Regions from separate parts of the Homo sapiens genome. Here regions 2, 3 and 4 are each linked to region 1. The links are contacts of gene promoters, found by promoter capture Hi-C in blood cells and fetal thymus (Javierre and others, 2016). All regions are on one chromosome and are shown on one strand. Each heading gives the region's core, a stretch centred on a gene start or on the middle of the fragment in contact. The rest is flanking DNA. Distances are from core to core; before and after follow the strand shown. Region 1 holds the start of TMEM68 (transmembrane protein 68). Region 2 has its middle 89 kb from the start of RP1. Region 3 has its middle 150 kb from the start of RP1. Region 4 has its middle 130 kb from the start of RP1.

Region 1 (6,826 bases), core at 595-3,094:
GTCATCCAGGCACGACAATGGCTAACTGCAGCCTGGATCTCCTGGGCTCAAGAGAGCATCTGGCCCAAGCCTCCAGAGTAGCTGGGACTACAAGCATGTGCCACCACAGCTGGCTAATTTTAAAAAAAAATTTCAGTACAGATGAGGTGTTGTTATGTTGCCCAGGCTAGTCTCCAACTTCCGGGCTCAAGTGATCCTCACTCCTCGGCCTCCTAAAGTGGTGGGATTACAGGTGTGCACCACCGTGCCCTCCCTCCCAGCCATTTTGTTCAGTTTCCCAGGCTTTCTTTTGCTCCCTCAAGGCCTTTACTGAGTTCAGCCTGCAGAGAACGCTTTCTCCCACTGAAACTCACCCCAATTTATCCCCCTTAGACCTCTTTCCAAAAGCTACTTCCTCAAAGAAACCTCTGTGACCCTTGGAAAGTTATTTGTTTTCACAGCATCCTGCACTTCTCTCTCATAGCACTTATAACTATAATCAACCAAGTAATAATGTAACCAGTTATCTTAATATTGATCTTCTCTGCTAGGAAGTAAACTCAATACATGTAAGGACAGAATGTCTTGTACCTCAGTGCCTACCAGCATACTTGATATACAAGAGCACAAAAAACATTTTCTGAATGATTGTATGACTACATGCATGCCTGACTAAAAAGGCGACAATACTTTTTACATTAAATTTAACAAGTTTAACTTCTTTTTGCGTTTTCAAATTACTCCACAAAATTACACGAGAAAAATGAATTCCTTCAAACTTAAATCCTACTATATTAAACTATATTAAAAGTCTATCACATAAAATTCACTTCCACAAGGATTTAACTCTAACAAAATAAGCATGTGAGATTAAATATACCCGTTATAGAGATGAAAAAAAGGTTCAAGTGGTTTAACTCACGCATTTAATATAAAGGAAACAATTCCTAGAATTCAAGTCTCTTGGCGGTATTATTCCTGCATACTAGCTATTTTTCATGTGGGGCAATTTTTACCTGATTCAAAGATTTCCCCAAAATAAAGATATCACAAAAACTGATGTAAATATGGTTAAGTCTTTTATCTCAACTAGTTTGAAGTTTTAATTATGTGCATTTGGGCTTAAGTAGATTTTTAGGTTTAAAAAAAGACGTTAACCAAAGCAAGTCACTCAACTTTAAACTTTCACTTTATGACATCATATCTACTAGAGATTTCATTTTACATGTCGCTTTCCCCCAATTTTTAAATGTCCCCTCGATTTACAAATATGAGATGACATATAGCACCTACGACATTTTTTCATAGCAGCCTACCAAGTAGATGTAGTCCTTCACATAAAAATAATGGCAGTGGGCGACCACTCCGTCATGTCTGAGGGTTTTGTTTTTCTTAAACATCACCGTGCCCAAGGGTCAGATGTTCTGGCTGCTTTCAGGGATCAATTACAACCACGTTTGCAATACCTACATTTCTGGGTAATGACTGTGCTAGAACATGAAGAGATTCTCTTTTCTACTTACTCCACAAATGCCCTGGAGCAAAGGCACAGTATCTTACAATCCTCCCGCTCCTCAATGAAGAGAAACATTTCCGCCACGCGGCTCCACTTCTCGCAGCACATTTTACCACTTCGGAGGCAGCTCTGACGTACGCAGCCCGGGTCGCGCCTGCCGGGCCTCCGCTCGGTTACTGGAGACTTAAAACAGGCCTCGCCCGCAAGCCCTGGATGAGGAGATAGAAACTGGCCCGCGGCCGCTCGCGCCGGGAACTAGCCCGGACGCTGCCGCCGGAAGTGGCTCCGAGGGGCCACGGGAAGGGGCGGGACCACGGGCGGTGTCACCCCCATCGCGGCCCGGGCTGCAGCCGCCGCTTGGCTTCTTTCACACGGGTTGCTTCGGAGGAATCCGCCGTGCAAATCTGTCCGCCCCCTTGGCCACTGATCCCCCGAAGAGCTTCTGTCGCCGCTCTAGGGTAAAGGAGAGCTGCCCCTGCCCCTGCCCCCGCCTATCCGAGGTGCGTCGGCCCCCGCGCTTCTCCAGCCCGGCATCGGGTCTGGCGGGACTGGGAGCGGCGGAGGCCGCGCGCGTCCGGTCTCCCAGGAGCCGCCTCGGAATCCCCAGTCTCTTCGCGGGCAGGCTCGGCTTCCCGCCGGCCTCAGTGTTGCGCCCCAGCGCCAGAGTGGCCGGGTGTGGAGATCCTCCCTCCTCTGGGTCAAAGAGCCTGCTCTCCCCGCCCCTCTTCTCCCCTGGCGCTCTAAACCTTCGGTTCGGCGCGTTTCATCCTAATGCATCTGGTGGGGCGAGGCGTCTCTAGCCTCTGTAGAGGCCTCTAGGCTTGCCCAGTGGCTTCGCTGGTTCCGGGACCCAGGTCGAGCCTCCGGTGTAAAAGCCAAGGGGAAGTGTGTGGTGATCCCGAGAGTGTAGGGGGAAAGCCGCGTGGGTAGAGCGTTCGTATCCAGACCGATCAGGCTTGGAATCCTGGTCCTACCTTGTGACCTGGGCAGGCAACTTCACCTTTCTGAGCTTACCTTTGATCACCTGTGAAATGGGGTTGATTAATAGTAACTACTACATGAGGCTGCAGGGAGGACTAAACGAAATGATGTATATTACACCTTTCCTTTGTGCGCTTAATCGTTGGCGTCGGTTTGGACCTTGTAGGCGTTAAGTGCTGTCTCGGTCCCTGGGGTTTGCAGCCTGTAAAACAGGTCTCTGCCTTCAAGTTACTAATTATCTAATAAGAAAAAAGTTCATGTGGGCATAAATAGGATGGAGAAAATGGAAACAGCAGCGTTGCTGGATCTGTTAAAAAGCAGTTAGTATTTGGTGTGTGGTATTCATGGAGGCTGCACGGGCAACTTCTTCAGAGACAAGCTCAGACTTGAAAGTTGGAGCGCTTCGGACGTGGTTGGTGCTACGAAATGCCAAAATAGTATTGGTACTTCTTCAGAACTATATAAAAACTGAGCTAAAATTCATGCATTTTGAATGGTATTTTCAATAGTATTTTGGCCACATTTACTAGTTAGTGGAAATATTCATTTTCAAATGTTTATTCCCACCTCCTTACTGCTGCCCTACTTTGAGGTCGGAGATAGGCTGATTTTGTTGGTTCAAGAAGGTAAGAGTGCTGCACGGTTACAGATATACCAGTATAGATGTGCAGCATTATTGGGATGAGTAGCTGGGTTACGATAATAAGGGTAGAACAGTAATTATGAAACAGAGTGGAAGATTTTAGCTAGAAGTTGGGCATTCTAGGATTAAAGAAAAGTCTTGAAGGGTAATTTGTATCAGAACCTCGAGTTTAAAGCTTGAAATAAAAAAAGTATTAAAGCTAAAAGGATTAGATTTACCAGCTATCTTGACAAATACTAAATTGCAGCTTTATTCATGGTTTGAAGTAGAAGTCCTATTCAGTAAAACAGTGCTGTATCTCTGTTAAACCATTATTAAATATGCAGAAAGGAAACAGGAAAACTTGTTTTTCAGTGACTATATCTTTTAATTGGCATTTTCAGAATGTTCTCAATGTGACTTATATACTAAAAGTAAAATGGAAAAGTACTGGTAATGGGTGTTCAAAATAGATATACTTTATTTATTTATTTATTTATTTTTTTTGAGACAGGATCTTGCTCTGTCACCCAGGCTGTAGTGTAGTGGCGCGATCGCGGCTCACAGCAACCTCTACCTCCCAGGCTCAAGCAATCCTCCTACCTCAGCCCCCCGAGTAGCTGGGGCTACAGGCATGCCACCATGCCTGCCTAATTTTGTGTGTGTGTGTGTGTGTGTGTGTTTTGTAGAGACAAGGTTTTGCCATATTGCCCAGACTGGTCTTGAATTCTTGGGTTCAAGTGATTTGCCTGCCTCAGCCTCCCAAAGTGTTAGGATTATAGGCATGAGCCACTGAGCCCAGCCTAAAATAGATACACTTTCTTAAGGTTTTATTGAAAGCCAAAAAGTTCTCTGTTCTGATTTATTAGTTTTTGAAATACTCTGATTTTAAACATCTGTAAGGTCCATATCCTCACCATCAATGTCAATATGGTGATATTTGAGCTTGTCAACTTTTTTTTTTTTTTGGAGACGGAGATTCATTTTTGTTGCCTAGGCTGGAGTGCAATGGTGCGATCTTGGCTCACCGCAACTTCCGCCTCCTGGGTTCAAGCGATTTTCTGCCTCAGCCTCCTGAGTAGCTGGGTTTACAGGCATGCGCCACCACACCTGGATAATTTTGTATTTTTTGTAGAAACAGGGTTTCTCCACATTGGTCAGGCTGGTCTCGAACTCCCGACCTCAGGTGATCCTCCTGCCGCTGCTTCGCAAAGTGCTGGGATTACAGGCATGAGCCACCGCGCGTGGCCTTGTCTACTTGTTTTTACAAAAGTTACGTGATTTCCAGATAGGGAAATTAAGATACTTTATATGTGATGCATTAGACTGTGTTTATTTTAGATTTTTAGGAGCAGGGGGCTGTAGAAAATAACCTGGAATTTTGAGAACTAAAATATTGTATTTCCCCCAAAACATCTTCTAGTACATAGAGTTCCCCCCTGCCCCCGAGACAGGGTCTTGCTCAGTTGCCCAGGCTGGAGTATAGTGGTGTGATCATTATAGCTTACTGCAGTCTTCACTCCACGGGCTCAAGCAGTCCTCCTGCCTTGGCCTTCCAAGTAGCTGCAACTTACAGGAACGTGCCACCATGCCTGGCGAACCTTTTTTTGGTAGAGACAAGGTCTCAGTATGTTGCCCCCAGGCTGGTCTCAAACTCCTGAACTCAAGCAGTCCTTCCACCTTGGCCTCGAAAACTGTTGGAATCACAGGCGTGAGCCACCCTGGCCCATGTCATTTTTCTTGGATTAAAATAAAGTGATAAGAAGTCAGTTACACCCCCAGGTAAATTCAGGGGGAAGGGGAAGGGCCAGGCAGAAGTATAGGGAAGACAGAAATTGCAATCTTAATATTTTCTTTCTGTCAAGAGAGAAAAAGAGAGATATATCAAAGAAAGTGTGTTGGAAGCCAGACCAGGAGGTAAGATGACTAGATTTTAATTTTAGTTCTTGGCTTTTACTGAATTAATTTAGTAATTTTAAGCAAGCAAACTTGGCTTTCTGTGTTTACTTTTTTTGTTATCTGCACAATTAAGGGGTTGCATTGAGATTTAAAGACACTTTGTCATATTATCAAAAGTAAGTGCTACATTTTATCTACTGAAAGGCATTTTATTCAAATTCCTCTGATAGTTCTCTAGTAGCAGGTTTTAGGATACTGTTTTGATCCAGATTTCTGTTAAAGATTTAGATGAGGCCAAGCAGGGTGGCTCACGCCTGCAATCCGAGCACTTTGGAAGGTGGAGGCGGGCGGATCACTTGAGGCCAGGAGTTCCAGACAAGCCTGGCCAACATGGCAAAACCCCATCTCTACTAAAAATACAAAAATTAGCTGGGTGCAGTGGTGCTTGCCTGTAGTCCCAGCTACACGGGAGGCTGAGGTATGAGAACTGCTTGAGCCTGGGAGGTGGAGGTTGCAGTGAGCTGAAATCGAGCCACTGCAGTCCAGCCTGGGTGACAGAGTGAGACTCTGTCTCAAAAAAAAAAAGTTTTAGACGAACACAGTTCAGTTGTATATTTAGCCAGCATTTGTTAGGTGCCTACTATGTGCCAGAAAGTAAGTGTTTTTCGTATGTTTTCTTAGATAACTATTTTATTTACTGATATATTTAGAATAGTATCTGGCACAAACTTCTCAGGGCCATCCACTTGTACATTGTATCCTGTCCCCTTTGGCCTAGTCAAGGACAGAGCTCTAACAATTATCTCCTCTCCTACATCATCTGTTTCTCACTCCCATTGATGAATTATCGTTGACATTGAACATGGGTGTATTTTCTCCTATCTTTTTTTTTTTTTTTTTTTGAGATGGGATTCTCATTCTGTCCCTGAGGCTGGAGTGCACTGTCAGAATCTCGGCTTATATAACCTCTGCCTCCCGGGTTCAAGCAATTCTAGTGCCTCAGCCTCCCAAGTAGCTGAGACTACAGGTATGCACCATGATGCCTGGCTAATTTTTGTGTTTTTAGTAGAGACGGCATTACCATGTTGGCCAGGCTGGTCTCAAACTCCTGACCTGAAGTGATCCACCCGCCTTGGCCTCCCAAAGTGCTGGGATTACAGGCATGAACCACTGTGCCTGGCCCTTTTTTTTTTTTTTTTTTTTTTTAAAGACAGAGTCTCTTGCTCTTTCACTGAGGCTGGAGTGCAGTGGCTTGATCATTACTCACTGCAGCTTCTACCTCCCAGGCTCAAGTGATCCTCCCCCTTCAGCCTCCCAAGTGGCTGGGATCATTGGTACATGTCACCATGCCCGGCTAATTTTTAATTTTTTTTTCTTTTTGAGCAGAGTCTCACTCTGTTGTCCAGGCTGGAGTGCAGTGGCATGATCTCGGCTCACTGCACTCTCCACCTCCTGGGTTCAAGCCATTCTTGTGCATCAGCCTCCCGAGTAGCTGAGATTACAGGAATGCATCACCACACCTGGCTAATTTTTGCATTTTTAGTAGAGATGGGGTTTCACTGTGTTGCCCAGGCTGGTCTTGAACTCCTGGCCTCAAGTGATCTGCCCCTACTTGGCCTCCCAAAGTGTTGGGATTACAGGTGTGAGCCACCGCACCTGGCCTAAATTTTTTTTTTAGAGATGAGTTTTTACTATATTGCCTGGCTGGTCTTGAACTTCTGGTTTCAAGCGATCCTCTTGCCTCAGTCTCCCAAAGTGCTGAGATTACAGGTGTGAGTTACCATGCCTGGCCTCTGTCTTAAAGCAACAGCTGCAGCAGCAGCAGCAAG
Region 2 (7,041 bases), core at 1,079-3,578, 1.1 Mb after region 1:
TAGTTTCTTTGTGGCAGGATAATACTTCTGTGTTTTAATCTGTACAACTCCATCCAACTTCCTGTGATCACCAGATTCTTTCAATTGAATGCCAAGGACTTCTTCCAGTCCCTCAGCCCCATCAGATAGAGCTGAGTCACCCATAGCACAAATAGGAAGAAAAAGCATGAATATTAAGTGTAGGACAAAAAGATTCTGCTAAAAACTTACAGAGGAAGTTTACTCACTGGGAAGAAAAAGATAACCAGCACACTGAGAAAAAAAAAAAAAATGGAAGAGTCAGAGAGAGGCATACAGGCTGGAAGTGAAGAACCAAGAAATCACCATTCAGCTGGGCTCAGTGGCTCACGCCTGTAATCCCAGCACTTTGGGAGGTTGAGGCAGGTGGATCACGAGGTCAGAAGATCGAGACCATCCTGGCTAACACGGTGAAACACCGTCTCTACTAAAAATACAAACACAAAAATTTAGCTGGGCATGGTGGCAGGCACCTGTAGTCCCTACTCTGGAGATTGAGGCAGGAGAATGGCATGAACCCAGGAGGCGGAGCTTGCAGTGAGCCGAGATTGCGCCACTGCACTCTAGCCTGGGCAACAGAGTGAGACTATGTCTCAAAAAAGAAAAAAAAAAAAAACCAGAAATCACCATTCAGCTAGAGTATGAGGCAGCTAAATAGAAAGTGAGCAACCACTGAGCTATCCCTTTGGTTACTACCCGGGGAAGATAAACATTTCCAATGTTGACCCATTTCCCACTTTGGAGTGACACTTACCTGTGCCTCTAGAAACTCTGCCCAGCAACTTCCAAACACAAACACAAAAGCATGTATTACATAGTGACACATTATCTCATGGTTCTGAACACTCCTGCGAGCCCCAGAAGGGAAAGGCTTGTATAACTTGTGAATGTTGAGGATAGGAAGGCTACTTACTGATTTCCTCCCAGGACACTCTGTCCTAGGGGGTAACTGAACATTAGATGAAATTGTACTTCTAACTAGTCTAGTCATAGTAATAATGTTACTCATTTTTATCCCAATTAGTCCACTTACCAGTGTAAAGACTACAAGCATGAGTTTGTCTCTTAAGCTTGGCTTCCTCTTCTGTGAAATGGTGATAAAATCTACTTCATTATGCACTTGTGGGTAGATCAGGGATATTAACTACACGTGTGTATGTGCATGTGCTTCGCCTTTGCATTGTGAGCATCAGTGCAGCTCACCTGACACAAACTCACCAGTCTGCAGCACCGACAGGGACCCTGGGAACCATGAAAGGTCAAAGTCCTCCCTCCTCATACCCCAAGAAGCTCATGCAAGTTCTTCCTTATAGCTAGACATCATGACTGGTAAGAAGGGAGAGGGCGGACCTCAGAATTTATTCAGAAGATCTAATTTAAACTAAACTATTTTAAACAATAATAGATGGAGAGCATTAACAGGGAGGTTAAATGTGCAATCTTACTTGTTCCTCACCCCACAGAAGAATTATGAATATATATAAACTGTTATGTTAGTTGTCTTCCACATCCCCTCCTAAGGCTCAAGGTGTTAAAGAAAAACCCCTGTCTGGGCACAGTGTCTTAGGCCTATAATTCCAGCACTTTGGGAGGCCAAGGCAGTGGATCTCTTGAGCCTAGACATTGGAGACCAGCCTGGGCAACATGGCGAGACCCTCTCTCTACAAAAAGTACAAAAATCAGCAGGGCATGGTGGCATGCGCCTGTAGTCACAGCTACTCAGGAGACTGAGGCAGGAGGATCACCTGAGCTGCTGTGAGCCGAGATTGCATGACTGCACTCCAGCCTGGGTGACAGAGTGAGACTCTGTCTCTAAAAATAAAAATACAAAAAGAAAAACCCCTAATATTTAGAATTTAAAATAGCTTCCTAGTCAAGTACAGGGTTTCCAGTGGTGGAAATTCAGGCACCAAAAGGAGCAGTAAGGAGACACTGTTGAGCTGGCCTTTCTAGAACCTTGGTTCTCAAAGCATCATTCATGGACCAGCATCAGCAGCCACAGCTGAGAGCTTGTTAGAAACGTAAACACTCAGGTCCCACGCCAGCCTTCCTCAATCAGAATCTACTTCCTAACACAATTCCCAGGTGATTTGTACATACATTACATTTCAGAGGCCCTATCTAGAGGGTCAGGATTCCTCTCTTATCATACCAGGCATGTGGCTGCTCTCCTCACTTATTAAAAATACCAGTCAAGGGAGACCACCACATGTAACATTCAATTTCCAAAACCCACTCAGAAAGTGCTATTCTCATGTCTACAACTGGCAAATGTCTTAAACATTTGCTGAGAGAAACAAGAGCAGATGCTTACTGTTCCATCGCATCGGCCATCCTTGATTCTTAGATACATTTGTGCATTTTTCACACTTTCAAACATGCAAATCCCAGAGCTGATTTTATGCACTTTCCAGTAGGATTTTTCAGACTGGCTTCCCACTCCAGTGCAGCTTCCATCAGGCTGGAGACACAGGGCCTGACACAGGCTTGTAGCAAGCAGAACCACAGCACTGTTGAGGAACACCCCCTTCAGAGCAACAAACAGAACAGAAAGGCAGTCAGTAACGGGCTCGTGTTTTGCTAGAGGGAGACAACTATAGAGGCAATTCTCTTACTGAAGCCATAGTGACCAGGAGGCTTGGTGGCTGAAAACGAGCAAAAGAAGTAAACAATGTCACTGCTATGCAAAAGTAAACAAAAGGAGGTTGGTTTACTTCAGTTATCATTTGTTGACAGTATAAAGGCCAGCATGAGATGCTACAGAGATTTTTAAAAGATACAAAACACATATATTTCTCTTAAGGAATTTACTATCACCTTAAACAAATAATGTTAATATTAATATAAAGCACAATAAAAATATGCTATAAGAGTAACTGAATTATGGAATACTCTCTATGGATATTTAAATGTATGCATATAGGAATGAATGTAAAAAGATATCAAATACAAATAAGATATATTTAAGAAAATCCTATGTAATCATTAATTTAAGAGGAAGATATAAAAGACTCTTGAGAGTTAATTAGAAATACACTAACACAGTAAAACTGATAATAGATAAATACACAAATCACAAAAGATAAAATACAAATGGTGAACAAACATAAGGAAAAGTAATCCATGCTAGTAATACAAAAAAAAAAAAAAGCTAAAATTGGATATCTGTTCCTCTAGAAAATTGTCAAAGTTCTTCTCCTTAAGGACCATACTCAACAACACTGAGGTCAGTGAGGTGGGTGTTTTCCTACACTGCTGAAACTAGTTGGGTACTAAGAATTTAACTTTACCCAGAGAAGTCTGACCTTCGCCTCAGCTTCTGAGTGGTAATCTCTTTACCCTTGGAGTGTCATGCCTGATAGGAGTGTTGTTGTTTGCCTGCAGAGCTTGGGTCAGCCAGATAGTAATAATGTGACTTAGGGTAGGGGGCTTTGAGTCAGAAAGTGTTAAGTGACCTCCTGAGAGGCTGGAGACTGAGACCAGCCACATGGACTCACTACAGGATGGAAGCCCAATAAAGACTCTGAATACCAAGGCTCGGGAAGCTTCCTTGGCTGGCAATACTCCATGCATACTGTCACACACCAGTGCTGAGAAAGTACCTCTGCCTTGACTCCATGGGGAGAGAACCAGTGCACATTCCATGTTTGGTGCTTTTCCTAGACTCTGCCTTATGTGTCTCTTTGCTTAGCCAATTTTAATCTGTATCCTTTCTCTATAATAAACTGTAACTTTGAGTATAACAATTTTCAATGGGTTCTGTGAGTTCTTCCGGTGAATTATCAAGCCTTGATAGTGGTCTCGGGGTCCCCCAAACTCTGTGGTTGATGTCAGAAGTGAGGATAGTATTATAGACTGTTCCCCCTAACTTTATAGTTGGCTTAACTTTCACAGGAGTAAAAATTGGGACATCTGAAGAAATAAATTTGGCAGTATGTTCCCAGAGCCTTAAAAGTTTCACGTTCTAACCCTTAAGTTCAATTTTTAATTTTCTAAGCTAAGAAAATAATAAATGATGTGGTCAAAGGCATATGTCAAAGTATATATTACAGTATCATATGCAGAAGTGGGAAAAGAGAGAGATTAAATGTTCAACAACAAAAAAGACATATGTGTGTGTGTGTATACATGTAATAGTTACATTTGAGTATTATGAAACCATTAACCTTAAGTTCAACCTTAAGCTAAATAACATGAGATGTATGAGTTAAAATTATGTTGCTTTGGGAGAAATAGTAATGTGAGAAAGTGTTTATTATACTGTAAGTACACACATACCTTGTTTATTTGCACTTCACTTAATTGTGCTTCACTTTATTTGCTTCACAGATAATTTTTCTTAAATTGAAGGTTTGTGAGAACCCTACATCAAGCAAGTCTATCAGTACTATTTTTCCAACAGCATGTGTTCACTTCATGTCTCTGTGCCACATTTTGGTAATTATCACAATATTTCAAGCTTTTCATTATTATGATAACTGTTATGGTGATCTGTGATCAGTGATCTTTGATGTTAACTATCGTAATTATTTTAGGGGGACATAAACTATGCTCATATAAGACAGTGAACTTAATCAACAAATGCTGTGTGTGTTCTGAATGGCTCCACTAACCAGTCATTCCCCTATCTCTCTCTCGCCTCTCTATTCCCTCAGACACAACAATATTGAAATTAGTCTAATCAATAACCCTATAATGGCCTCTAAGTGTTCAAATGAAAGGAAGAGTCACATATCTCCTGCTTTAAATCAAAAGCTAGAAATGACTGAGCTTAGCGAGGAAGATCTGTCAAAAGCTGAGGCAGATCTAAAGCTAGGCCCCTTGTGTAAGGTAGCCATGTTGTGAATGCAAAGGAAAAGTTCTTGAAGCAGATCAGAAATGCTACTCCAGTGAACACATGAATAATAAGAAACTTAAACAGCCTTATTGCTGATATGGGGAAAGTTTTAGTGGCCTGGATATAAGACCAAAACCAACCACAATGTTCCCTTAGCCAAAGCCTAACCCCAAGAGCAAGGCCCTAACTCTCTACAATTCTATGAAGGCTGAGAGAGGTGAGGAAGCTTCAGGAGAAAAGGTTGAAGCTAGCAGAGGTTGGTTGATGAAGTTTAAGGAAAGAAGCCATCTTCGTAACATAACAGTGCAAGGTAAAGCAGCAAGTACTGATGGAGAAGCTGTAGCAAGTTACCCAGAAGATCTAGTTAAGATAATTGATGAGATTATCAACAGATTTTCAGTGTAAATAAAACAGCCTTCTATTAGAAGAAGATGCCACACATGACTTTCATAGCTAGAGAGGAGAATTCATTGCCTGGCTTCAAAGCTTCAAAGGATAAGTTGACTCTCTTGTTAAGGGCTAATGCAGTTGGTGACTTTCAGTTGAAGCCAGTGCCCATTTACCATTCCAAAAACCCAAGGGCCCTTTGGAATTATACTAAATCTACTCTACCTGTGCTCTAGAAATGGAAAAATGAAGCCTGAAGGACAGCATATCTATTTACAGCATCGTTTACTGAGTATTTTCAGCCCACTGTTGAGACCTACTGCTCAGAAGAAAAACAATTTAAAATATAACTATTCATTGACAATGTACCTGGTCACCCAAGAGCTCTGATGGACACGTACAAGGAGATTAATGTTATTTTCATGCCTGCTAACACAATATCCATTCTGTAGCCTATGGATCAAGAAGTAATTTCAATTTTCAAGCCTTATTATTTAAGAAATACATTTCCTAATACTATAGCTGCCATAGACAGTGATTTCACTGATGGCTGTGGGCAAAGTACACTGAATACCTTTTGGAAAAGATTCACCATTCTAGATGCCATTAAGAACAACTATGATTCATGGGGATAGGAGGTCAAAATCTCAACATTAACAGGAGTTTGAAAGAATTTGATTTGAAACCTCGTGAACGATTTTGAGTGGTTCAAGACTTTGGAGGAGGAAATAACTGCAGATGTGGTAGAAATAGCAAAGGAGCTAGAATGAGAAGTGGAGCTTGAAGTTGTGACTGAATTGCTGCAATCTCATGATAAAATTGAACAGATGAAAGATTACTTCTTATGGATGAGCAAAGAATGTAATTTGTTGAAACAGAATAAACTCCTGATGAAGATACTGTGAACATTGTTAAAATGACAACAAATGATTCAGACTATTAAATAAACTCAGTTGATAAAGCAGCAGCAGCTCGAGAGGATTTATACTAATTTTGAAAAGTTCTACTATGGATAAAATGCTATCAAACAACATTGCATGCTATAGAGAAATCTTTCATGAAAGAATGAGTCAATCACTGTGGCAAACTTCATTGTTGTCTTATTTTAAGAAACTGACACAGCCACCCCAATCTGCAGCAACCACCACCCTGATTCATCAGCAACTGTCAATATCGAGGCAAGACCCCCCGCTACAGCAAAAAGATTACAACTTGCTGAAGGCTCAGATGATCATTAACATTTTTTAGCACTAAAATATTTTTAAATTAAGGTATGTACATTTTTTAGACATAATGCTGTTGTACACTTAATAGACTACAGTGTAGTAAACATAACTTTTACAGGCACTGGAAAACTCAGGAATTTGTGTGACTAGCTTTATTGAGAAATCTGCTTTATTGCAATGGTCTAGAAATGAACCTACAATATCTTTGAGGTTTTAAATATAAGTAGACTTTAGCTGAATATTGATTTAATAACTATGCTATACTAGTTAAGATAATTATTTTTAGTGAAAATCTTTTCCTTCGCGTTTCAAATACAGATAGCATTTGTCAGTGTTTTTGTGATGATTAAATTTAGTCTCACCGTGTGGTGAAATTCTCAATAAATGCCTGGAATAAAATGGGAAACCTCATAAATAATTGCTATTATATTTATATAATATCATTTTAAGATAGATTCACAAACACATAAAGAAAAAAGAATAAGCATTATGAAAGGATCAAATGTATACAACACTCAAAGAGTATAAATTCTAATTGTTAGAAAAGTTCAATATACACATTTGACTCCCAAA
Region 3 (6,204 bases), core at 407-2,906, 1.0 Mb after region 1:
TGCACCTCATTCTGTCAGTTTCCCACCATCACTACTTGTCACTTTCGCACCAAGGAATGGCGTAAACTGACAAAGAAGAGCACAGAAATCTGCAGCAGCACAAATACATGCTCAGAATAGCAAGAAATGATTAATAGTGGCCTCTTTCAGGAAAAAAAAAATCAGTAAAGTTAAATGATTGCTCACTGCCTCATGATAATTTTTATTATTCCCTTCTCCCTATAAAAATTGTATTTTACATTTCTGTACTTTATCAAAATTTCAACATCTTTTTTTATCTATATCATTCATCATCTCCCCCTCTTTTCCCAGAAAGGGAAAATAAAACCATTTGTAGACAGGCTGACTTATTTTGAAAATAAATAAATGCATAAATTATTCGTAATGAGACATCTGAGTATGTTACAGAGGGAACTCATGCAAAGATTAGGTGACCTCTAAGGTTTCTTCCAGCTTGAGATTCCACTGTGTTTTCCATCCATCGTCCTTACCCCCCTCCCTCCTTCCTTCCCTTCCTTCCTTTCCCCATTCCTATCTATAAATATTTGCTAAATCCATACTTGGTACAAGAAGCCATACTGGAAAATAAAGAGAAATTTATGAGACACTACCCTTAAGAAGCATATCATCTGGTACCTGAGACAAATACGTTCACAAACAATGGCAGTGCATTGTCTGGCAAGAATTGCATAAAGGTCTAAGTCAAGTGCTGGAGGAATTTAAAGAGGGTAAGGATGAACACACTTCTGTCTGGGCAAGCAGAGAAAGCTTCATGGCATGGATAACATTTTATCCTGGGCCTTGAGGGATAAGAATTTCAGTAAGCAGAAGAAAGAATATAATGAGCTAAAACAAATGAGGGAAAAGAGTAACAATATCCCTGGAGAATGTCTAGAGACAGAAGCGAAACGTACTCTACTCAGGAGAATTGGAAGAAAAGCCTAGAAAGGTAAATGGCCAAGGTAGGGGGATAATATGTTTTTAATTCACCACACACTAACACCTTCAGGCAGAGCTGGCCTAGGTGTAAAAGTTCTCTTGCCAACTATACTTACACAGAAGAAGGATGCTGTTCAAACAGGGCTGCCCCTGCTTCTTTTCCTGACCCTCTCCACAAATGATATACTCAGCCCTGTTCTGTATAAGGCTCAGCTCATGATTTACTAACTAATTCACTAATTTAGCACACACTTTCTGAGTACCTACTATGTTCTGTGTATTTGTCCTGTGGACACTGAAGGTCTTGATTACAACCTCCTAAGAGCATGCGCCTCATGTTTGATTTTCATGGAATAACCGCTAGAGTTGCCACAAGGCAATTAAGCAAGGACAATGCTTTGTGAATAATAATGATGGGATGGTACAGGGGTGATTATCAGCCTTGCTTCCACGGAAGAATCTCATGCATGGAGATGCGGCCTGCTGGTGTGTGAGGCTGCAGTGATAGAGCAGCAGAAACGCCGCTCTCTGCCAGGCCGTCAAGGCGGAGCCCCCTTGCGGTGTGGTTGGCCAACTAGCCACTTCAGTTTTTCAAGAGTGAGATCCTGAGACAAGTAAACTGCATTTTGCTTAAAAATCTATACCAGTAGGACACGTCTTTTTTTTTTTTTTCTTTTTAACTCATGCTAATTCTAAGAATTACTCTTTGGCTTCTTGTTGTCATTAACACTTAAAAATGAGTATTAAGTGACAATTTTGTTTATATGTGTCATAGTGAGGTTAAGATACAATTAAACCTTTTAAATTGTGTTCTAATTCCAAATCTGTCTTTTAATATGATTTCCCTTTGGGCTTATAGTGTCTTGATTAATGCATGCATTTTGGTTGAATTTATTACACATGTAAATTTAACCTAGTTCCCTTCTATTTCAGAAACGATAGGAGCTGAAAGTAAAAATATAAGACATCAGCCCAACCTTGGGGAAAAGTGTACTGAACTAGAGGAGTAGGACAGACACATAAACACACACATATAACTTAATGTAGTAAGTGCTGAGTTAATGTCACACGCCTTGTGAAAGGTATACAGGAAAATGAGTTTCCCAACCTGTAGCTTCAGGAAATATCTCCTGGCAGAGGTGACGCATCTTTTGTCAACTCACCAGTAAATATACCCATGAAAGCCTACAGGACTCCAGGCACCACGGAATGGCCATGAGTTAGGTAAACTCAGATCCAACAGCACCAGCTGAGAACACAGTGAAGGCCAGTGAGGAGCAGAGAAGAAAGTGTCTGCCAGGCCCTGGCTGAGCTGTAGGCCTGCTGTGTGGCCAAGGCCAGCTTTTGGCTGCAAAGGTTCCCCCAGAGTGTGATCTCAAGGATGAAAAGAAGGCCTTTAGTTTGCCTTGCCCGAAGGCCTGCCTCACCTGCCTGCAGGGGGCCCACAATTGTTTCGGTGGAACAACAGACTCTTTTTTTCAACAATTAATAAGAAGGTGCTGAGGACCGTGAAAAGGGCGTGAGTCTGGAGTGGAGGTGGCATTCCACCTACCAGAGGTATTCAGGATTTGCTGATAGTCTATTCTAGCCATAGTGGAAAGCTTTTAAAGTCTTCTTTTCTTATACTTTGCACAAAGGAGATAATCTCAACCTTTCTCAAAAAAAAAAATTTTAAAGTCATGAATCCTGAATAGAAATGAGACGGGAACACTTTAAAGGTGTTAACTGCAATGTCAACTCTAAGGAACGCTGTGGAGCATTATGTCCTTATTCCTCAGGTGAATGTGCCTCAGGGTCACTCCACCTATCTGACTACAATTTGGTTTTGAGAGGACAAAGCTGGTCATGCTGCCTTGCTTTGACAAGTCAAGTTAGATTCGTTTTGTTTGTTTGTTTGTTTTTGAGATGGAGTTTTTGTTCTTGTTGCCCAGGCTGGAGTTCAATGGCACACTATCGGCTCACCACTACCTCCGCCTCCTGGGTTCAAGCAATTCTCCTGCCTCAGCCTCCCGAGTAGCTGGGATTACAGGCATGCACCACCATGCCCGGCTAATTTTGTATTTTTAGTAGAGACATGGTTTCTCCATGTTGGTCATTATTTGTAGTTATTTGCATTTAACTGATTGATTTCTGCATTTAAAAATTCTCCTTCTATTTAGAATTCCCCTAGGTAGGGCCTTTATTTCAAATAACTTGCTTCTGCAAGCTCCTATCAATGTCATTTCCCAAACCAGGAGTTATGAAAGGCAACATTGAGAAGCTTTTGGCACTCCTTGTCTCCAGGCCCTCCTAGGTCAAGTAGGTTATCAAATATATATTGTGAATGACATTGTTTCTATTAAAAGATAGATGCTAACTTATTTTTAATAATTTCACATTAAAGTCAAGACTCACATATACACATGCATACACAATAGTTCAAGTTTGGTAACACAGAAAAATCTGGAGATTCCCTAATTTAATGCTAAACAATACATTACAGAATCCACTCAAAAAGTATACTGGGTTAAATAGTGTTCCCCCAAAATTCATGGCCACCTAGAACCTCAGAACATGACCTTGTTTGGAAATAGGGTATGTAATTAGTAAAGATGAGGCCATACTGGAGTAGGATGGGTCTAGTCCAATGACGACAGTGTCCTTACAAAAAGATAAGAAATACAGAGACACAGACACACAAAAGGAAGACAGCCATGTGACAACGGAGCAGAGGCTGGAGTGATGCAGCTGCAAGCCAAGGAAACCCAAGGACAGTGAGCATGCAGCAGAAGTGGGAAGGGCGAGGAAGGACTGTTTCCCAGGCCTTCCGAGACAGTGAGGCCCCGATGACACCTGGATCGTGGATCACTGGCCTCCAGGAGCTGCAAAAGGATATATTTCAGTTGTTCAATGCAATCAAATCTGTGGCAATTTGTTACGGCAGCCACAGGAAGCTAATATAAATACTAAATGAAAATATTTGCATTAATTCATAAAGTCAGTTGAATGTCTGCCTTATTCAAATAAAATTTTGTTTGCTGCAAACCTCAAATAGCCAAACCTCCAGTGTAAATGGTAGAAATTCAGTGATGTATACCCCTATCTATATTAAATGTACAAAAGACAGAAAAATAATACCTTCAGGCATAGAAATAAAATAAAGCCATAAGGACGTGGGTGTTCAGTTGAAGAGGGAAAAAGGAAAGGAGGATGCGCACACTCGCAGGCAGCCTCTGTGATGCATACAAGCAGTCTCCTCACGCGGCTCTGCTTTGTGTCTCACCTAAGCATTTCCCCCGAGCCCACAAAAAGGGACAAGCACTCGGTGGTCTTTTTCTCTGCCCTAATTCAGCTGTGCTGTAAATTCTTGTTCTCTGAGGAAACTCCAAGGAGCATGACCGAGATTTTCTTTCCTTTTCCCTTCTGTGATGTGCACCTGAGCATTTTGGATGCCTGTACCCCAGAACTAACTAGCCACAGTGAACATGCCCAGCATCATACCCTACCCAGCTCCCCCGCCAGGACTGTCCACTCCAGCTCCTGCGTGCACCCATGGCTCTCCTTTCTCTTCAGAACAGCCTTCCAGGCTCCATGGACACTGACCTTGACCTCATATGCACAGAAAAGGCTCTGGGAGACAGAAGTAACTATAAGTGGCTTCAGAATGGCCTTTTTCTGCAGTAGAAAGGAACCTGCTGTGCCCCAAGTTCTATTCCTGGTGCCATACTCTTCTGCTCCTTTAAGAATTAAGGAAGTAGGAACTGTCTCATCTCTGTATAGCTACATAATAGAAAGCAATTATTTTTGCAACTTACTTTCTTCATCAGGGTATTACATGAATGAGCACTCGGTACCATTTATTTAGGACCTACTATGATCAGGGTATTAAATATTAGCATTTAATATTTTATATCTGTTACATTATTTGGGATTGTTCAATATATTTTGAAACTAAAATTCTTTCAGATACAACCCATTGAAATTATAATAATTAAGCTATCACTTATGCTCCTTCCTTCCAAAGGAGGCCATGGTGGCACAGCACAAACAAGAAGTAAGGTAGTGCAGGGGCCAGGTGCGGTGGCTCATGCCTGTAATCCAGCAGTTTGGGAGGTTAAGGCGAGCGGATTGCCTGAAGTCAGGGGTTGGAGACCAGCCTGGCCAACATGGTGAAACCCTGTCTCAACTAAAAATACAAAAATTAGCCAGGCATGGTGGTACATGCCTGTAATCCCAGCTACTTGGGAGGCTGAGGCAGGAGAATTGCTTCAACCCAGGAGGTGAAGGTTGCAGTGAGCTGAGATTGAGTCACTGCACTCCAGCCTGTGTGACAGAGCAAGACTCCGTCTCAAAAAAAAAAAAAAAAAAAAAGTAAGGTAGCGCAAGAAATGATGGGTGACGATGTGAAATGTATGTGTAGACATGGACAGTGGCAGTGACTGCATCTAAATTACCCACCAGAAGATTTCATATTTAAAAGAAATCAGCTAAACTAATGTGACAAACTATATCAGAACATAAGATGAAAGTCCTGGATGAAGCACACTCTACCTCTTCTGATGCAGGGAATAAAACAGAGCTTCCACCAGTGCCCCAGAGATGCCTGTGTGCTGTGGGTGGGAGCAGGCTGGGAAATGACACCCAAGTCCTCTTCAGTGCTATGTGTTACTCATCAGATGGGGGTGCCTGTGCTGTGCTAAGTTCTGAGTACACATTGAGAGAAGAGAAAAAATCTTTGTAGTTTGGCCAATTAAGTCATACTACAGGCCAAATTGGAATTGGAACTTGAGGATGGACAGGATTATAATGGGGAGAAGAGAGCAAGGAAAGGTCCTCTTGAGTGAAGACTAGCACTCCGAGGGACAAAAGCAGAGTGGAACAGAACTTGTTTAGGTAATTATAGGGGTCTAATTTCACTAAGATCTTGTAAGAGGACAGCAATAAAAACAAATTGGAGGGGGAAATATAGAGTCAGATGTTATAAAGCCTTGAATGGAAGTTCTGTTTAGTTTTGCTTTTGTGGTAGGCAATGAGGATTATTGAAGGTTTTTAAACAGGAGAGTGATGTGATTAAAATATAGCTTTTAGAACATTATTTTCCCCCATATTTTTTCTTGAAACATTTTCAGGCAAAGCTATACAATAAAATACTAAAGAATAAAATTCAAAATAAAACAAAGGAGACATGAGAGAAGAAAAGATAAAGTCAGAATGATGCTAGTTAGTACCATAGAAGGGCTAGCTTGGAAGTTGTGGGCAGGTAGGCTGCGAAAGAAAGACACAGAA
Region 4 (7,124 bases), core at 1,272-3,771, 1.0 Mb after region 1:
CATAGCCTCACTCCACATCCTGATTAAATGCAATTAATAACCAACAACAATTGCCACCATCTATATTTGTATTCTACTTGTTTTTTGTTTTGTTTTTTTTTTGAGATGGAGTCTTGCTCTGTTGCCCAGGCTGGAGTGCAGTGGCGTGATCTCGACTCACTGCAAACTCCGCCTCCCATGTTCACACCATTCTCCTGCCTCAGCCTCCCAAGTAGCTGGGACTACAGGTGCCCATCACCACGCCTGGCTAATTTTTTGTATTTTTTAGTAGAGACAGGGTTTCACCATGTTAGCCAGGATGGTCTCGATCCTTTTTTATAAAATACTTTTCACAAATTGTATTTAATCCTAAACAAAATAAATAAAATAATCTTATCTTTTCTTGGAGGAGAAATGATATAGAACCAGAGTCAACAAATACTTTCTGAGAGCTACCCATGTGGCCATTTGTCTACTGAACACTGGATGTAAGATAAACACTGGATAGAACACAAAGAATATATTAGGATGAGAAAGGTTTAGAAAAAAATCCTTTTAGAAATCCTACCCTGAAATATCATAAACCTTTGTTCTATAAAACAAAAAAAAATACTTCTACTCTCATTACAGATTCCATATACACAAAGCTTTTTCTGAAAAAATAAAGGCAAATAGTCACCAACACGTTTGTTGGACACAACGTATTTATAGTACTCTATAAGATCTGATACTGGGGATGGTGGATGGGGCACTCATGTCAGTCATTAGTATTTTCTTTGTATAGCCAGAAATATGAAAATATAATAAGGTTTAAATGTGTTCATACGGAACATTTTAAGTGTTCTTGCAAATCAGACACAAAGTCAAAGCTTGACTCTAAATATCCTTATTTCTCATCCTGTGCCTTGTGATAATACCCTATTTGTTATCAAGGACTGTACAAGGGGGACCAACTATGGTATTTACAACTGACTGAGGGACTATCAAATACATGAATTTATCTTTGGTTCAAATAAGCTGGCACAACTTTGAGAATGTTTCTATAAACTACTGGAGTCTTTTGAGATTAAACATTTGCCTGGAGATTTTGTGAAAAGAAGCTGGTGCTTCCTGCTGTTCACTGAACTAGAAAATCTTCAAAAACAAACTATTTTTCTTACCGCATTTCAGAACTTGCTATTTCCTTTATGTGGTTCTTTCTAGAACCCTGAAGTGAAGAAGTAACTGGAAATGAAAAGGAACTAGAAATATTTATGAGATACTTTAAAACTTCAAAAAAATAAGGCATTTCTTACCTAATTTTGCTAATCTCAAGATTGCCTGGGGCTCATATCAAGTAGGTTACCATATCATATTAACCAGCAGTAGGTTAAAATAATAACAAATTCACCAAAACCTATGACCCACTTCAATTCAAAGACTTAGAAGAATCAAAAAGCTTCAAGAGAATTCCTATTCTATTTGAGTCTATTTATCCAGAATGTATAGCAAACATGTGCTGCAGAGGCAGCCCAGACATTGGAGAGAGCATTAGGCCATGGGCCAAGAGAAGGGGCATTGGCCTTATCTCGCTACTAATTCTGTGTGAATGGGTCAAACCTCCAAGACTCTCCAGGCTATATATATGAAACAGGGTCTCCCTCTGTCACCCAGGCTGGAGTGCAGTGGTACAATCTCAGCTCACTGCAGCACACCCAGCTAATTTTTGCATTTCTGTAGAGACAGGGGTCTTCCCATGTTGCCCAGGCTGGTGTTGAACTCCTGGGCTCAAGAGATCCTCTGGCCTTGGGCTCCCAAAGTGCTGGGATTACAGGCATGAGCCAATGCACCCAGCCGTACTTCACATATTATAAATATTTGTTAAATAAACAAAATGTGTTTTATTTATTCATTCATTCCACAAATGTTTAACATCTACTACATGACAGGCAATACTGTAGGAGTTGGGATTATAACACTGAATAATACAAAGTTCCTGTTCTCAAGTCACTCACTTTCTAGTGGAAGTCGGACTATGAACAAATATAAAATATCAGATAAGGGATGTGTTATAAAGAAAATAAACCATGCTGATGTGATCAAGAGCAAATGTGGGCTCCCTTTAGATTGTATAGCAAAGGACCTCTAAAGCAGGAGAAGACCAGTGTGGCTTCCACAGCATGAGAAGGGGACGAGAAAGAGGTGGGCAGGGGACAGATTACATGAGGGGACATGATCTGACTGATGTTAATAAGAGATCACTCTGGCTTCTCTTTGAAATCTGGATACTGAGGGGGGTGAAAAAGAAGCTGGAAGCCTATCATAGGAGATCTTTACAGCAGAGAGAAGAGAAAAAAATGCAACTTGGAGTGAAGTGATGGTAATAAGATGGAGGAAAAATAGACAAAATTGAGGTATGTTTCAGCAATAGAGTCAGCAGGAGATTCCTGAGGGATTGGATTTTGGAGGGAAGGGAAATAAAACAATCTAGGAAAATTCATAGGGTTCTGGCTTATATAACTAGGTAGACACTGACACCATCTTCTCAGACGAACAAGACTAAAGGAGAAGCAGGTTGGATGAGGGAATCAAAAAGGTCTGATTATGTTTCATTTATTTTTTTCACTTGATATTCACAACTTGTGAGATACCAAGTACCGTTGAGCCCTATTTTATAGTAAGAAAAACCTAGAGAAAAAGTGATTTTTTAACTTTTTAGAAATTAAACATCTTTCAAGTCTTTTGACTTCAACTCTAAAGTTTATTACCTCAATTTGAAAGAGCCAAAGTCAATTCCAGAGAATAAAAAAAAGAAAACCTAAGATTTAAAAACAATTATTAGTTTTATTTAACAGCATTTGCTAACATGTATGCTTATCTTTCTTTTTTTAATATTCAAAGTTAATTACTATCTGTCTATGTTCAGTTATAGCCATCTTGTTTTGGGTAGAAGCTACCCATTGCCTGAAATCAGTATGATGACCTGGATTAATATTCTACAACAGTGTTTTGGACGCTAGACAGCACAGTTGGTTAGTGTGCATTAATATGGCTGAAATAGCAAGTCAGACCTTCACAAAGGCCTCTAAAGTATGATCAAGGAATAAAAGTTTAAGACTCTGAATGACATCACATGACCCACCACTAGATCAAAAGCCCCAAAGTACCAGAGTATCATGAAATGGGCAGGTGTTCCCTGCTCAAAATGCTATGTCAAAAACTAGGTTTTCACCCATTTTAATCTGGGACACTAGGAATGATTTCAACAAACACTTGTTTAGAAACAACGGCTTCCCCCAAAAAAAAGCATTCCATAAGTGCTTGCATTGTTTATCACAAGATGAACAATAGCTATTGGCTATAAATGGCTGATCATTAATGGGGAGAATGATCCTAATAATGACATATGTCCTAATAATGACAGACTTTCAGATTTTCCAAGTCCACAAAAGGCAGCCTTTGGTCATTGTGAAAACAATCATTTTCTTTTTTGGAAATAGTATTTTCTTTTGGCTTTCAGACTGAAGCATCGTCTAGTATTTTTCTATCAATACTAAAAAGACCCAAAGCCTTGACTTTTGCTTTAGCTCTGATGCAGAACTGCCAAATGTGAGTACTATGAAAGAGTCGATATGGATGAGAAAAAGTGCACTGATATTAAGCTTCAAAGCCAAACTTTATGTTGGGGTAGATGAGAAATAGAAAAAGAGTTAATTTCCAAAACCATTTTTTCACTGAAACATGCATTCATTTTCCTTGAAAACAAACAAACACAGTGCTTGGAAAAAAAAAAAAAGGAAAAAGAAACAGCAGTGCCTTTATCACATAAAATATTCAGCATTTTGTTTTAGTTTCTTAAATGAATAGGAACAATTTTAGGAATGCCTTCAGTAAAAACTAAAATTCATTTGCTGAGCTCCCCCTGCTGATTTACAACAGCAAATATTAGTTGTTTCACAAGAGAACATTACCATAAAAACTCATTTTTGTTTCTTAGAAACTTAAAATTCCTGGATTACTTTTAAAAATTTCAACCAAGTCGTTAAATACATATCCTAAAAATAGTTGACTGGAACAGACATATGGTGGTACTTACAATGTCTGAATTAACATGTTAGAATTCAGTAATGAGAATATAACATCTAGGTCAGGTTACCCAACCTTTCCTCTCAGAACCTGAGAAAAGGGAGAAATCAATTTAATTCTCTCCATAAATCTTTTGGAAGACAGATGTAGAGACAGCATGTGCCATTTTCACTGGGACAATTACAATGACAACTTAATGGATAACTAAGCACAATCTGGTTTATAGTCAGGTTAATGGTAGATTGTGTTCTTTGAAGACAAGAACTGCATCTTAGTCATGTTGGCATGCTCAAACGACCAACAGAACTCTTCCAACTCTTATTAAGTCTTCTAGTAATACTTGATAAAACACTTTGAATACGAGTACAATTGTTTTCTGAATATGAGTACAAATCTGTGCTATTGTTTATTTTAGTACCAAAGTCCAAGGAGAGACTTGATGTGCTCTCTCCCACCCTGACACACTGAAATCTATGTATTTAAAAATTGCCTTGGCCCTAACCTGTCCTAAAATATAAAGTTAATTTGACTAGCATGGTCCATGCAATATAAGAAAAGGGAAATACTGATTAAGAAGACTATATAAAAGACATAAAGATTACTGAATTTTGCCACAGAGCAAATGCACGTGGAGGAATAAAATTTTGTACCGTATAGCAATAAACTTCCAGTGTATTTGTGAAATACTGAGGGAAGAAATAATGACTGGAGTTTAATTATCAGACAGAAGATGGTAGTCACCTATACAGAATTTTTTCTATATGCTTGAATAGGGCTGCAAGAGATGGTAATAAAATATTTGTAGGTCTATGTATTTATCAAGTGACTCTACCTAAACAAGGTCAAACGGCTTGTGTCTGACAAATTCCAGTCTATGTAATCATCCTTCGAACACAAGGAAACTATTTCAGCTTTGCAAATAGACACTTTGCCTTTCATTGGGGAACAAATTATTTTACATATTTAGGATGAAATATTTCATAACCTTCCCTTCGGGGCTCTCTGACTCATGTCCCCACTGTGCACTCAGAGGCATCACCTAGGCTCCCTAGGGAGCTCCCTTGCCCTCTTCCCCTTTTGAGTATAGGCCTGCGCTGTGGCTTCTGGACAGATTACTGCTGGAGGGAACTTCCTCCACATGCAATCTTGTCACAACATCACCTAATATAATATGTGTGCTACTGCCTCTGCACCATGGTCATATCTTTTTCCTAAATCAAACCCCAAATGCCTCAAACCCCTACAGTAATGCACAATATTCCTTTCATAGAATGTTAATAGATTTTACCTGAAAAATATGACCCCATGGTGAATTTAGTTTTGGAAATGCTGTTAAACAGATTTCCCTACCACAGGGCATCCCAGAACCTTTACTATATTTATTTGCATTGTGACTTTCCAAGAGAGGAATGAAAAACTCAGTGTTTCCAAAACTCATGTGGGAAACTCAGTGTTTTCCACACTGGAAACATTTATTGGGGAGCATCTTGGGAAAGCAGAAGCATGGCTGGCTTTTTACATCATGGGAAGCGGCCTCAGGGCTGAGGTGAATGGGCATTAGTGGGGAAAGTAACTTCTTTGAATTGCTCACGTAAATACTGGTGTCTAAAAACCATTCTCCACTAAATTAAACTAGGGCTCCTTGAGAAATAGGTAATTCCAGGGCTAGGGAAAAGAAAGTACTAGATAAGCCTGAAACATCTTTTCAAATCAGAAAGTAAAGAAGTCCTCGTAGAACGGACAGTGACATGTGAAAAAAATATAGGGGCTTACAGGAAAAAATGAAGGATGATTTCAGCATCAAAGTAAATTATGTTAATAAAGATTAACCCATCAAATAAAGTAAGAATCTGCAAGTACACGCTGGTATGAATAAATAAATGAAATTTTGAAATGGAGAGAAGGAAAAAGTTCTACCTTGTAGTAGAATGCCAATTAATAAATAGAGAAATAACAATAGAATATAAAAATCACCATTTGGCCACCATCACAGTAATAACTGACTAAGGCAAAAATCATCAATGGATCCTAAAATTAGTGGGTAAAAATTTTATGGTGAATACGATATTTACATAGCCAAAGAATCAATGGACTTCATGTCAGTAAATATTTGTCAAACGATTAAGACATACATATAAACACACAAACATATATATATATTTTAACAGGGAATGGTAAAGTAGATGGAGTGCAACCTTAACAACTGGGAATCTGAGTGAAATTTGAGTTCTTTCTTCCATTCTTGCAATTTTTAAAATAAATTTGAAATCACTTCACAATAAAAAGTAAAGTAAGGTGTAGGAAAAGTCCCTTCTCTTACATTGCTTTGGTAATGACAGTTTCTAGCTGCTCAATTCAATCAATTAATTAGTGTTCTACCCACTTTACTCTTCACAGAAGCCTTTACCACTGACCAGAGGAATGGATGATGCCTCCCTTGGTTCCCAGGACTGAGTGCTCCTTCCTTGGACAGCTTCTGCTGGGGATGTTTTTTCCTCCAGTTGAAGAATCACTACGTAGTGATGTTGCTATACCCCTCAACCACTTTTCTCACTCACAGGCCCCAGAGAAAGCACATCCATGCTATTGACTTCAGGCCCACTTAACTCATGGGTAAGTTTCTTCTAAAATTTTAGTTCTGACTCACCTTTCCCAGTAATTCACAGGCACAGAGCTTCTGATTTTACTACACTTTGCAGGTTCCATGGTTTTTGCATCTTCTTAAAAGGTCATTGCTTTTCTCATCTTAGAATTCTTTCAATGCTTCTAAATAGAAAACTTTAAAGTCACCAAATGGTTTCCTCAAATCCTCCATATCATCTAGCATAATGCAGGGCATGTATTAGGTGCTAAGTAGATATTTCTTGACTTACTGACTGGAACATATTTACCTGTTCCTGAACTATTAGAAAACATTTCATTATATAGGCATGTCCTAAGAAATACTACAATAAACACCTCAGCAAAATTAACATTTTTCTCAATTACTTTTATTATACAACCAAAGATACAATAATAAAAATCACAGATAAAATTAAGAAACACTTAAAAAGAAAGAAACATTTTGCTAGACTCTATCA

The links. The method cuts DNA at HindIII sites, captures the fragments that hold promoters and counts their contacts. A CHiCAGO score of 5 or more calls a contact.
Region 2: a contact is called between a fragment that was not itself captured here and the fragment with the promoter of TMEM68 in region 1, in 1 of 17 cell types (total B cells). The highest score is 6.8, in total B cells.
Region 3: a fragment that was not itself captured here is called in contact with the fragment with the promoter of TMEM68 in region 1 in 3 of 17 cell types (total B cells, naive B cells and M1 macrophages); the score reaches 6.1 in total B cells.
Region 4: a contact is called between a fragment that was not itself captured here and the fragment with the promoter of TMEM68 in region 1, in 1 of 17 cell types (total B cells). The highest score is 5.1, in total B cells.

Annotation. Positions count from the first base shown.
Region 1 is chr8:55,768,396-55,775,221 of GRCh38, reverse strand. It overlaps TMEM68 (transmembrane protein 68), which reads left to right and starts at 1,844. Exons shown (of 8, transcript NM_001286657.2): 1 at 1,844-1,953. TGS1 (trimethylguanosine synthase 1) reads right to left here and starts at 1,776. Exons shown (of 13, transcript NM_024831.8): 1 at 1,503-1,776. The coding sequence starts at 1,603. RefSeq lists enhancers at 1,338-1,667, 2,439-2,942 and silencers at 1,808-1,997, 2,088-2,217. The HindIII fragment of the contact is 10,724 bases long and covers 1-3,296 here.
Region 2 is chr8:54,701,947-54,708,987 of GRCh38, reverse strand. It overlaps a transcript of RP1 not described here. Among named protein-coding and RNA genes, the nearest start is that of RP1, 89 kb to the right of the region's middle. The HindIII fragment of the contact is 2,475 bases long and covers 1,091-3,565 here.
Region 3 is chr8:54,760,319-54,766,522 of GRCh38, reverse strand. It overlaps a transcript of RP1 not described here. Among named protein-coding and RNA genes, the nearest start is that of RP1, 150 kb to the right of the region's middle. The HindIII fragment of the contact is 1,772 bases long and covers 771-2,542 here.
Region 4 is chr8:54,742,309-54,749,432 of GRCh38, reverse strand. It overlaps a transcript of RP1 not described here. Among named protein-coding and RNA genes, the nearest start is that of RP1, 130 kb to the right of the region's middle. The HindIII fragment of the contact is 2,203 bases long and covers 1,420-3,622 here.